3 separate regions of the Homo sapiens genome follow, and regions 1 and 3 are each linked to region 2. The links are contacts of gene promoters, found by promoter capture Hi-C in human tissues and cell types (Jung and others, 2019). All regions are on one chromosome and are shown on one strand. Each heading gives the region's core, a stretch centred on a gene start or on the middle of the fragment in contact. The rest is flanking DNA. Distances are from core to core; before and after follow the strand shown.

Region 1 (4,126 bases), core at 535-3,034, 130 kb after region 2:
CTGTGCTGTGTCTCCATTTAGGAGTCTCTTTATTAGGCTGGAGATGGTGGCTCACACCTGTAATCCTAGTACTTTGGGAGTCCGAGGTAGGAGGATCACTTGAGGCCAGAAGTTTGATACCAGCCTGGGCAACATAGTGAGAGCCTATCTCTCCAAAAAAAAAAAAAAAAAAAAAAAAAAAAATTGCCAGGTGTGGTGATGCATGCTTGTAGTCCCAGTTACTTGGGAGGCTGAGGTGGGAGGATCATTTGAGCCCAGGAGGTTAAGGCTGCAGTGAGCCAGTTATGGCACCACTGTACTCCAGCCTGGGTGACAGACCAAGACCCTGTCTCACAAACAAAAACAAAACAAGACAAAAAACAATTGAGATTTTTCCCTGCCCTGGGAGAAAAGCAAAAAATTAGACAGAAATTATATGTTCTCTGCTCTTTAAAAGAAAAAGCTAAATGAATACATGCAAAAAAAAAAAAAAAGGTTTAATCGGTTTTGTTTTTGTATCCTCATTCAATTTGGTTCAATTTTTACTTCATTGGAAATTATTCCTCATGGCTTGTAGATGAGATGGCCTTCTAATTAGGGTGAATATTGAGTCTGTTCTTTTTTGAGTTCTTTTTATTTTGGTTGTCTTTAGGAGGAAAGTCGAATAAAAATGCCTCTCTTCTGTTAACTTCAATCAAAAGTCTTACTTGATATTTCTTAGAGTCTTTTAATTATGCCCATCCCCATAAACTGTTAGTGGCTCTAATGCATCAAGTCTGACTCCTTGGTTTTCTAGATTTTTTAATTCCAGCCTCATTGTCAGCTGAAGAATGATGAGGTTCATAAATTTGGAAAGGAGAGCTTTATTTTTCATAAAGGGTTGCAGCCTGCAGGGTAGCCATTCTGACAGACTGGGAAGCATAGCCTTCCATTGGAGACCAGAAACAAACAATTGGAGGGTGAGAAGAATAAGACAGGGATTCACACTGAAGGAGGTGGAGGAATATTCGTGTTCTGTAAGCAATAGGAGGAGTCATGTGTATTTAGGAAGGGAGAAACATGCGCATGCACAGCTGAGCCTCATCCTTCACCAGGGGACCCATGGTTTTTAACTATGGCGGCATTAGCATGATCCAGGGTGGAATTTTCGGATCTCTGACTTCAAAAGATGAAGCAGAGGATGCAAAACCCCTCCCTGCACATCCTCCGTGGACTGGCCAGAACCACTCTGTGGTCTGTGGTCTCTTATCAAGAAGGAATGCTGGTTGGTTATTTTGTTGAAAACCACAAAAAGGAGGGGCGGTTTCAGGAGGTTGATTGACATCAGGGGTGGAGTGGGGCTTTCCAAAGGGCTGGTTTCTGTTTAATCCTTACGGAGGAAATCCTAATGTTGGTTATGGAGGGAGGGGACATCATGAGGCACGTCTGACCTCCTGTCTGGTCATGGTTGGGAACTGAGTTTTCAAGGATTTCTGGGGTCCCCTTGGCTAACAGGGGGTCTGTTCAGTAGGTTGGGGGGGCTTAGGATTTCATCTTTATTTTTTACTGTATCTATACAACCTAATTTTTAAACCACTCTCCAGTACTCTCCTTTATACTCAAATACTCTAACCTGTACTTTTCCCCCCTTTAACTGTTTTCTTCTCCTCATGCTAAGGCTCATTGGAGTTTCTAAGCCCACTTCTGTATTTCTCATAGTCTACATCTCCCATCTCTCTTCAGCTAAGTCTTCTCAAGCTTTAAGACTCAGCTCAGTGTTACTGCCTCAAAGATGCCTTCCCTGTCTAATCTGATCCGAAGTGGTACTCCTTTTCTGGAAATTTCTCCATCACTTATGTGCAGAATTTAACATTTAATTATACGTATAGTCTTGTGGTGTTTCTTGTGCTGATTTGTTTGTTTGTTTTTTTAGCATTATCTCTCCCAGCTGGACTACTCAGAGAACTACTAGAGAACATGGACCAAATCATTCCTTATTCTGTAAATCCTGCAGTACCTAACATGGAACTGGACATATAATAAATCCTTAATAAACAACTAGTAGTTAATTAGTCATGTGAACATATGAGTTTTAGCCAGTGTGTTTACACTTATCTTTTTTGTTGTTGTTGTTGTTGAGACAGAGTCTTACTCTCTTGCCAGGCTGGAGTGTAGTAGTGCAATCTCGGCTCACTGCAACCTCCTCCTCCTGGGTTCAAGTCATTCTCCTGCCTCAGCCTGCTGAGTAGCTGGAACTACAGGTGCACACCACCACGCCCAGCTAATTTTTGTATTTTTAGTAGAGACGGGGTTTCACCATGTTGGCCATGATGGTCTCGATCTCTTGACCTCGTGATCCACCCGCCTCGGGCTCCCAAAGTGCTGGGATTACAGGTGTGAGCCACCACGCCCAGCCTACACTTGTCATCTTTATCATCTGGTTTCACAGTTTTCCATCTGGAGCTTTTTAGAGTCTTGTATGATTTGCCTCAGTACTAGTAATGCGAAGTCACATATTTTCATCCCCTTGGGGTGTGTGTATGTGTGTGTGTGTGTGTGTGTGTGAGTGAGTGAGAGGGAGAGAGAGAAACAGTTAAGATCCAGAGACTCCCAGCATTATGAGACCTTTCCTTTTCAGAGCCTGGATATTTCAGGTGTAGAATTTAATAGAATTGGTAGAGTGCACAGGAAAGAGATAGTTCCCAATATTTTACTTTTTTAATAATTCTTAGAGACAGGGTTTTGCTCTGTCACTTAGGGATGGAGTGCAGTGGCACAATCATGGCTCACTGCAGCCTTGACCTCCTGGGCTCAAGTGATCCTCCTGCCTCAGCCTCCTAAGTAGCTGAGACAATAGGCATGTGCTGCCACACCCAGCTAATTTTTTAATTTTTTGTAGAGATGGGGTCTCACTATGTTACCCAGGCTGGTCTCGAACTCCTGGGCTCAAGCAGTTCTCCCACCTCAGCCTCCCAAAGTGTTGGGATTACAGATGTGAGCCACTGTGTCCAGCCAGTTCCCAGTATTGTAGAGTATGGTGACTTTTAAGAATTGTGGCTATTATCCCTTTTGATTATTTGTTTAGATCAAATACCATAATGCTTTATTGATAAATACTTTGGCATATTTGGACATACTTCCTAAGTATAGCGTGCTTGTGTATATAATGCTTTTCAGGTTTTGTGTAGTAGCGGGTATGAGTATGCTCTGAGAAAAAGAAGAATAGAAGTGAAAGACCTGGTTATACTTATTTTTAAATGAATCACAGACTTACAAAATTTGTAGAGCTAAGAGGTATCTTGGAAATCATATAGTCCCGCTCCTTCATTTTTAGGGTCGGGAATATAAAGGACCAGTGTGGTTGACTTACATAAGGTCACAGTAGTAGTAAGGAATAGCACAGTACTGTGAATAGGCTGAGATAATCAATTTATATTATTTCTGGATTTTCTGACCCAGTTTGAGGAAAGTATTGTGTATTTGAGAAACTCACACATTCTTAAAAAGTAATTTTTTAAACAGCTTTTCAAAAGATCTTTCATATGCTAAAATATTGAACAACATGCTTGGAGTATAGTTAAGAGGTGACAGTACCATGTAGTGGGCAGGTAGTTAAGAAATCTACATCCTAATTCCAGCTCTGGTACTTACAACCTTGGAAAAAGTCGTCCAGAATGAAGAAAGTCAGTTTGTATTATTCAAAATGAATGGATCAGGCGAGATTCTCTCTGAGGGCCCTTTTAGTTCAAAAATTCTGTGTAAAAGTGAAGCAGTTGTAAGCCATTGAAACTTGATGTGATCAAAGCTTTATGACATCAGAGCAGAGACATATGTGTAGTATCTCTCCAAAACGTATCAGCAGCTCAACATATAGAATTTCATATCTTGATTCCATGCCGTACCTACTCATTAGGCACTGTTGATTCTTTCCAGATACTTTCTATTTCTTAGGCTTAATTTGGATGCTCCTTCTTTGCTTGAAGCTTGGTACAGGAATATGAATACCAGGAATAGATATATATGAAGCAATAAACTTATTTGATAGTCTTTTGGCTCTTCCAAATGAATAGTTCACACATGTGTTAGATGTGTTGGTGTATTAAAGAATGAAGAAAACCCGAGGTTGCTTAAATTTGTAGCATCTTTTACTGTAAGGTACTATAACTGC
Region 2 (4,565 bases), core at 1,327-3,826:
GCAAAGATCTTGGAAAAGAGACAATTCAAGTGGTTCACAAGTTTGTCTTCAGTGCTTGGAGTACTCTCAGGTGGAAGAAATATTTCAACTCAATATAAGGGATCACTTCCTAATGTCAGGCCAGTTTCAATGCAGAATTGACCAGCTTGTAAAGTACTGAGTTCTCTTTAAGGGAATGGCTCCAGGAGAGGATAAGTGAGACCCGGTCAGAGATCTTGTGAAGGAGAGTGGTGGTGATGACGAACGGGGAGTGCAGTGTGAAAGAACCTACCTAATCTTTACACACCTTTGCAAGTTTGAGATTTTTAGGATGACTTTGCTATTAATGTTCTTTGATGCCTTAGTCTCGGTTTTAATGGTCGATATGTAGAAAGTTTTAAAGGTAGTAGGGGCTGCTTTTAAAGTGAGAGAAAAATGTTTTTTAAGACCTAGGGCAGCAATAGTGATTCACTTTGCCTCTATTCATTTTTAGGGTTCTTCTTTCTCCCTCCTTTCCTCCCTTCCTCCCTTCCTCCTCTTTTCTTTTCTTTCTTTTTCTGTTTTTCTTTTCTTTCTTTCTTTTTCCTCCTCCTCCTCCTTCTTCTTCCTCTTCCTCTTCTTTTTTGACAAGGTGACAGGGTCTTGCTCTGTCTTCAAGCTGGAGTGCAGTGGTGCAATCACAGCTCATTGCAGTCTTGAAATCCTGGGCTCAACTGATCTTCCTGCCTCAGCCTCCAGAGTAACTGCGATTACAGGTTCAGGCCACCATGCCTGGCTATTTTTATTTTTATTTCTTTCTTTATTTAATGTATTATACTTTAAGTTCTGGGATATATGTGCAGAACGTGGAGGTTTGTTACATAGGTATACACGTGCCATGGTGGTTTGCTGCACCCATCAACCCATCATCTACATTAGGTATTTCTCCTAATGAGATCCCTCCCCTAGCCCCACAACCCCCGATAGGCCCCTCCTCCCTGATGTGATGTTCTCCTCCCTGTGTTCATGTGTTCTCATTGTTCAGCTCCCACTTATGAGTGAGAAAACGCAGTGTTTGGTTTTCTGTTCCTGTGTTAGTGGGGTCTCACTATGTTGCCCAGATTGGTCTTAAACTCCTGGCTTCAAGAGATCCTCCTGCCTCAGGCATGATTACAGGTGTGAGCCACTGCACCTGGCCCATTTTGACTAGAATGTAACATAGTGGTTAATCAACACAAAGAAGCTAAGGATTGCAGGTGTGGGGTTGCTGGATTTGAGTAAGTTGTGAAGGAGAACATCATGTGGGAACAAACCTCTAGGATCCCTGTTCTTCCAGCAAGAACTGGAATTGGGCCTTTTGTGGGGTGGGGCTCTTTGATTCTGTGGAGGATCCTAACAGTGATGCCTGGGCTGATAGATCCAGGGGACTAAGAAGTCAGGGCTCCTCTGAGACATGTGACAAAACACAGCTGACACTGACTTGAAATAAAAGAGAGAGGATTTATTGGCTTCAAGGGTAGAGTTCACTGCAGACACATCTACCTCCTGAGGTTCCTGAGAGGGTGGGACATCACCCTCTCACCAGCAGCTTTTCTTCCCTCAAAGTTGGCTTCATTGGCATGCACTGTTGGTCCTTGTTACCGTAGGCTTATATCCTTCCAATTTAGTTATCCTAGTTTAAAGAGCTTATTTTTCTGCAGTAATACATCCAAAGCCCTAGGCCGAGTTCCTGGATCAACATGCCCAACCCAGAACCGATCACTGCGGTCCGGAAGATGACTGGCTAGTTCTGGGGGTTGAGGGTGGGAGGTGTCAGTACCCTGGAGCCACAAAGACTCATTGTGGGTGAGGGGGAAGGGCAGTTCCCATAGGAATAATGAACTGCTGTTACCAGAAAAGGCGGAGAAATGGATAATATTGAGCACACACTCAAAAGTCCCAAAGGAATGGCTATCCATTATTTGGGGACTTACTCCATATGGATATAGTTAAATTGTAAAATTGAATAAATCTTCCCTAAATCTGGACAGATGCAAGGGTGGGTGGGGAGGGACACAATATATTTACACTTTAGCATTTTTACTTTTTCTCCTACGTGGGACTGGTTGATGAAGATGCTATAGAAGTAAACAGAAAGCCGAAAGTATTAATACAGTAATTTTAAATTTTAGTGCCCTCTTTAGGCAAAGTATCTGGGAACGCTTTCAATAATCCATTTTTTCATCGTGACCACACCCTGTGTGTGCGACATGAGTATTACCGTCTTGCCCTTGCAGTTGGGGAAACCGAGGCATGACACTCCCCTATTCAGCTTTCTGGTGGGGTTGAGGAACAGTGTTGTCTGCACGACCTCAGAGGGTCTCCTCCACCCTCCGCGACACCTCTAGGAATCCTCCTGTCCTTCGACTTCGCAGAAGGAGAGCAACTCAGGCTCCGCCGCAGCCTCGGGACTCGTCCTCCGCCCAGCCGCACCCGCCCCGTTCTTCCGCACCTTCCTCAGGGAGGTCCCGCTGGCCAAGGTCTGGCTGTCCCTCCTGTCCTCTGCCCCCGCCTCCCTTCCACCGGTCCCCGACGTGCCGCCAGCTCCCAGCCCAGCGTCCCGCAGGGCGGTGCGGGCAGATGCCGCCGAAGCGTCTAGCGGGAAGGGCGCCGGCGCGGCTGGAGGTGAGGAGGCCGGACTCTTCGCTCTCCGCGGACCGGGGCACCGCGGCTGGAGCGGACGCCCGGCACCCGGGCGGGAGGAAGGTGGCGGCAGGGAGCGGCGAGAGGGTGGCGACGCAGGCGGGTCGGCGCCTGGAGAGCGAGCGGCGGGGAGCCGGGCGCTGCGGGGCCGCTCGGGGCCGCGCCGCGCTCGGCCACAAACCTCCCGGAGGCGCAGGACCCCCGGCGCCCTCCCGAGCGCGGGCGGGAGCCATGGCTTCGCGCGTCCCCGCTGCCGCTGCTGACTCGACACAATCGGCGGGTCGCGCGGGGGCCGTGGCGTAACCCGGGGGTGGGTGGCGGCGCGGAGCCGCCTCGAGAGCTCTGGGTGTCGCTGGGAGCTAGGAAGATGCCAGCACAAAGGCGAGCCGAGACCCAGCCCGCTGCGGAGGGCGGCGGGAAGAGCCGCTGAGGGGCGCGCCGAGCGCGCTCTGCCCCTGCGCCGCGTCTCTCCGGGCGCTTCTCGCGGTCTCGGGGTCGGGGACTGCAGCGCAGAGACTCTCGGCTCCGTGGCAGCGGCCGCAGCAGCCGTGAGCTGCATGCAACGCGCGGCGGCGCCCCCGGCCGCCTGCTTTCTCCTCGGCGCGCACGGACCGGCCGCAGGGCGCCGGGGCCGCGGGTCCGGGCGACTTTGGGGGCGCCCTCCCGCCCCGCGGCCGGGTCCCCACCCGCAGCTTGTGGCGACGGGCGCAAAGCCCAGGTGAGCGCGCGGCCCTCGCCGCAGGTAGCGGACGGCGGGAGGTGGCTTTGTTTTTCCTCCCTTGCGCCCCGGCGCGGTCATTCATTTGCCATTTCGGTTTCCGCTGCCCAGGATGTGTTGGATGGTTTGGTTCTCCAGGGAAACTGGGACTTTGGGGTCTATTTGAGCATCAGTTGAGGGAGAGGACGCTTCATTTCCTTTTTGGTTGGGAATGTGCCGTGAACATCCTCTGCTGGAGCTTGGGGCCTGGAGCAAACTGGGGCTGCAGATTTAGACGTAGACGTTTCCGAGGACGCGAGACTGCAGAGGTCTGACTCTCTCATGCCTTGTCTTCACTATTAGCAGCGCTCGGGTGCTTTTCGTCGTTTATTATTATTAATTTAGAGAACATCTTTACAGGCACATTTCTTTTAGAGTTAGAAGTCTTTGGAGTCAGTACAGAGAGCTCACAATTAGAGTTACAAGGGTTCAATCGATATTAAACTTCAGGAAGGAAAACATTTGTGATCATTACAGATAGAGGTGGACAGCATGCAAACTTCGGGGGCCTTTAGCTTTTGGGTTATGATTTCTGCTTTCACTGTCCTAGACTCACGCAAACTGTTTTCGTATATATATACCTTTGTGAAAGTGTGAAACTTGTCTTTTCTGGAGTAGTGTTCTATAGTTTGTCATTTAGAAGAAGAATATTTTAGTGTAATTAGTAGAGCTCTCCATGTGTTTGTCTTATAAATATGATTTTCTTTTTACTATTTCTCCTATTCCCTCGAGGGTTCATTTCTTCTGTTGCTTTGAGAGAGCTTTTTTTCTTTCTCTTCCCAACAGATGGCTGTATGTTCCAAGAGGTTATCTTTAAAATGACACACACATTATCTACAAAGAAAGAAAGATCAGTTATTGACTTTATCTTTGGAGTTATTAAAATAAAAGGCCTAATCTGGATGGGGATATTATTAATGGCGTGAAAATCTGGAGTTTGCTAATCTGTTTGGTCATCAGAAGATTCCTGCGGGGATTGTTTATATAGCGTGGGAGACAGATGGCATCCCTAGCAGACTAGAGAAGCCAGGCATAAAGGGTCATTGTATTCTTCAGAAATTATCCACTTCACTATTAGAGGTGGGGTAGGGTGGGGTGGAGGGTGGCAAAGACATTTTGATCTCTTAAAGGAGACACTGTAACGTTACTATCCAGCAGTCTAACCAGC
Region 3 (4,418 bases), core at 699-3,198, 170 kb after region 2:
TCAAGTTTTATCATAAGATTGGAGCAACTCAGTTACATCTTCAGGCACCACTTCTAATTCTAGTTCTCTTGCTATTTCTACCACATTTACAGTGACTTCCATCACTGAAGTCTTGAACCCTTCAAAGTCATCCATGAGGGTTGGAATCAACTTCTTCCAGACTCCTGTCAATGGTGATATTTTAGTCTACCCCATGAATTGTGAATGGCATCTAGAATGGTGAATCCCTTCCAGAAGGTTTTTAATTTACTTTGCCCAGATTCATCAGAGAAATTCCTATCTATGGCAGCTATAGCCTTAAGAAATGTATTGCTTAAATAATAAGACTTGAAATTCAAAATTACTCCTTGGCCCATGGGCTACAGAATGAGTGTTGTGTTAGCAGGCATGAAAACAACATTAATTTCCTTGTAAATCTTCATCAGACCTCTTAGGTGACTTGTCGCAGTTTTTTTTTTTTTTTCCAAGCAGTATGTCTCAATAGTGGCCTTAAAATATTCAGCAAAATATTCCGTAAAAATATTCAGTAAATCTAAATGACAGATGTGCTGTCATTTTGGCTTTGTTGTTCCATTTCTAGAGTGCCAACAGAGTGGCTTTAGTATAATTCTTAAGGGCTCTAGGATTTCTGGAATGGTAAATGAGCATTGGCTTCAACTTAAAGTCACCAGCTGTATGAGCCCCTAACAAGAGAGTCAATCTGTTCTTTAAGCTTTAAAGCCAGACATTGACATCTCCTCTAGCTATGGAAGTCCTAGATGGCATCTTCTTCCAATAGAAGGCTGTTTTGCCCACATTGAAAATCATTTGTTTAGTGTAGCCACCTTAATCAATGATCTTAGCTAGATCTTCTGGATAACTTACTGCAACTTCTACATCAACACTTGCTGTTTTACTTTGTACTTTTATGCTATAGAGATGGCTTCTTTCCTTAAACTTATGAATCAACCTTTCCTAGCTTCCAGCTTTTCTTCTGCAGCTTCCTTACCTCTCTCAGCCTTCATAGAATTGAATAGGGTTAGGGTCTTGCTCTGGATTAGGCTTGGTTTAAGAGAATATTTTGACTATTTTGATCTTCTCTCCAGACTCCTATAATTTTCTCCATATCAATAATAAGGCTGTTTCACTTTCTTATCATTCGTATGTACTTTGGAATAGCATTTTAAATTTCCTTCAAGAACGTTTCCTTTGCTTTTACAACTTGGCTAACTGTTCGAAGCAAGAGGCCTAGCTTTTGGCCTGTCTCAATTTTTGAGATGCCTTCCTCTCTAAGTTTAATCACTTTTAACTTTTGATTTAAAGTGAGAGATGTGTGACTTTTCCTTTCATTTAAATACTTAGAGGCCATTGTAGGGTTATTAATTGGCCTAATTTCAATATTGTTGTGTCTCAGGAGTTAGGACAGCTGAAGAGAGGGAGAAAGAGGATCGTTGGGTCAGTGGAACAGTCAGAACACACACAATATTCATTGATTAAGTTTATAGTCTTGGGCACAGTTCATGGTGCCTCAAAACAATTACAATAATATCATCAAAAGACCACTGATCAGAGATCATCACGACAGGCATAATAATAATGAAAAAGCTTGAAATATTGCAATAAATAGCAAAATGTGACACAGAGACATGAAGTGAGCATATGCTGTTGGAAAAGAAATGGCACCAACAGACTTGCTCAATGTGGGGTTTCCACACACCTTCTATTTGTAAAAAAAACACATTATCTGTGAAGTGCAATAAAGCAAAGCATCATAAAAAGAGTTTTCTATGTAGGCTTCTCAAAAAATTAAAAATATAAATACTATATGACCCAGCAATCCCACTTATGGGTATACATATCCAAAGGAAATGAAGTCAGCATACAGAAGAGATATCTGGATTCCCATGTTTATTGCAGCACTATTTATAATAGCCAAGATATGCAGTCAACCTAAGTGTCCATCAGTGGATGAATGGATAAGAAAAATGTGATAAACACACACACACACACACACACACACACACAATGGAATACTATACATTCATTAAAAAAGAAGGAAACCCTCTCATTTGTGACAACATAGATGAACCTGGAGGTGAAGTGAAATAACTCATTTGATTAAAACAAAACATGCTCTCTACCCTGACAATGTTCTAAGCAATAGTGTTAGAGAAAGGTTTGCGTTGTTAGGTATATTTCTTTCTGACATGCATTAACTGTTAAGGAATAACTTTTGTCAATGAACTACCCAGGACCGTCACAGCAGCACACTTTGAGAAGCTCTGACGTTATCAATTGTTGAGATCACAGGCGCTATAGTTAGACACATTAGTAAATTCAGTGAATGACTAGCTGAATGACCATGGGCAGATAATTTAACTTTTTAAACCTGAATTTCTCCATTTTTAAAAAAATGACTTAAACCACCAATATTATGAGAATTAAATGAGATATTGCATATAAAATGCTCGGCACAGTGCTTGGGCAGATTGTAAGGTTATTATTATAAACTATCATTAATATTTTGGTAATTATTAATAATAATAAAATCATTTTACTGGTAGCCTGAAGCTGCAGCTCAAACTTACCCACTGAATGAATTCCCAAGAAGGGATTTCCAGTTTAAAGTGACACAATGGGCCACTTCTACCTAAGGAAAACAAAATTCATTTATTTGAAGCAGAGCTCTAGAAATTATATAAGCACTTAAAATGTGAATGCTAAATAATACAGTATTTTAATTTGAGTATTATTTAGGTTCTAAATCAACATGCTTTACAAGGTGATGGGAAATCCACAATTTAATCTGAAATTCAATCAAATGGAACAAATAATGCATTAGGTTTTTCATCTTCAGAATAGCTATCAAATATAGTTAAGAGTGCCCGATCCTAAGTTCTTTTGATATTTTATCATGATTCCTGGTGAAGAAAAGTTGTTTTAGGTCATATTTTTAAAATTTTAAAATGCTCTTAGAAAGTAAGAGCTTTGAACATGTAATTGTTTTTTGGAACAACTTAACTCTAAATTCTTTTCACCTAGTCAGATTATGCTGCAATAATTTACTAACCCTAAATCCTCAGGGCTTAACAGAACAAAGGATTATTTATTGCTAATGCTGCATGTCTCGTGTGGGTTGGCAGGGGGCTTGATTCATACTGTCACTTAGGGACTCAGGCTCATCACCTTCTTTATTTTTTCCATATTAGATTATTAAAGGCTCAACCATTTTATCATTATGCCATCTGGACACATGACCTCTTTGGGCAAGTGTCAGGGGAAGAGAGAGCTGGAAACTCTTATGCTAGCTCTTAAATACTTAGACACCAAAGCCACACATTTCACTTCGGCTCAGAGCTCATTGTTCAGCATTGGTAGCAAAATTTTGTCTAACTGCAAGGGGACTGGGAAATGCATAGAAGCCTTTGGCTATTCAGTGAGCAATCAGTGTCTCTCCCATAGTAGAATGTCTTGCTAACAATGTGTCTGGTCCTCCAGTCTGTTTCAAAGCTTAAGGCATCCTTGTATGGTCACTGCAAGAATAGATACTAGGGGTTAGAAAGTCTCATACTTTGGAATACACTTTGCAAGGTGTTCAGAGACTGAATGAGCAGGCATACCCAGGGCAGTACCAAGGACAGTGCATGACCATTATAGATGAAAAATAGCTTAGTGGAATCTGAATTCACAGGATCACCTTGGTATCTCAGACTATCACGGATCTTCCTTTTAATATGCGTGTGGAAGATTTGGTCCACAGAGGAGTCCACATGTTCAAAATGGTTATGAAAGACTCCCCTGGATATTAGATGGGTTTTCGAAAATTGCATAGGTTGGTGTAGCCAAAGAAGCTTTAGTGTATTTTATGCTTTAACATATTGACTGCAAGCGATACTTGATACAGGCATTCTTCTCTCCATAGATTGAGATGATTCTAGAAACATTACCCTTATTGTATTTTTATTGCCCCCCATGCTTATTTGTGTCACTTTTCCTTAAAGGAGACTCATATAGCCAAAATTAGTAAATGTTAAATAATTGTAAATATTTTGTGATTGAATTAAGATAGCTTTTGCATGCGGTTTAGAAATTCTTTGTTCTGATTGCAACCATTACTAACCCACAAAATAATTCCTTACTATACATACTGATTTTATCGTGTTTGTTATAATTAGCTTTTTATACTTTCTTAAGGACTAAATAGTGGACACACCTATAAAGTTACTTATAATGCAATTATTTTATCCTGCTATATTTCTTAAAGTCTGTTTTGTCTGTTATCAGTTGTCACATCAACTTCCTTTCAGTTAGTTTTTGCTTAGTGTATCTTTTCCCATCAATTTACTTTCAGCCATTCTTTGGCATGCTCTAGATTTATCTGCTGTAAATCATGTAAAGCTTTATGATTTTTAATCTAATTTAAGTGAGCATCTTTTAAA

Evidence for each region. Contacts are between HindIII fragments. The study calls those that stand out against the background at their distance.
Region 1: a contact is called between a fragment that was not itself captured here and the fragment with the promoter of HECW2 in region 2, in 1 of the 25 tissues and cell types used here (bladder).
Region 3: a contact is called between a fragment that was not itself captured here and the fragment with the promoter of HECW2 in region 2, in 1 of the 25 tissues and cell types used here (dorsolateral prefrontal cortex).

The regions. Positions count from the first base shown.
Region 1 is chr2:196,456,834-196,460,959 of GRCh38, reverse strand. All of the region lies in intron 1 of HECW2 (HECT, C2 and WW domain containing E3 ubiquitin protein ligase 2), which reads left to right. It overlaps LOC105373821 (a long non-coding RNA gene), which reads right to left and starts at 3,699. Exons shown (of 5, transcript XR_007087827.1): 1 at 3,613-3,699. The HindIII fragment of the contact is 4,797 bases long and covers 1-4,126 here.
Region 2 is chr2:196,591,565-196,596,129 of GRCh38, reverse strand. HECW2 (HECT, C2 and WW domain containing E3 ubiquitin protein ligase 2) reads left to right here and starts at 2,576. Exons shown (of 29, transcript NM_001348768.2): 1 at 2,576-2,622. RefSeq lists silencers at 2,618-2,887, 2,968-3,347. The HindIII fragment of the contact is 8,801 bases long and covers 1-4,565 here.
Region 3 is chr2:196,421,271-196,425,688 of GRCh38, reverse strand. The region is part of intron 2 of HECW2 (HECT, C2 and WW domain containing E3 ubiquitin protein ligase 2); the gene reads left to right. Among named protein-coding and RNA genes, the nearest start is that of HECW2-AS1, 160 kb to the right of the region's middle. The HindIII fragment of the contact is 4,313 bases long and covers 1-4,104 here.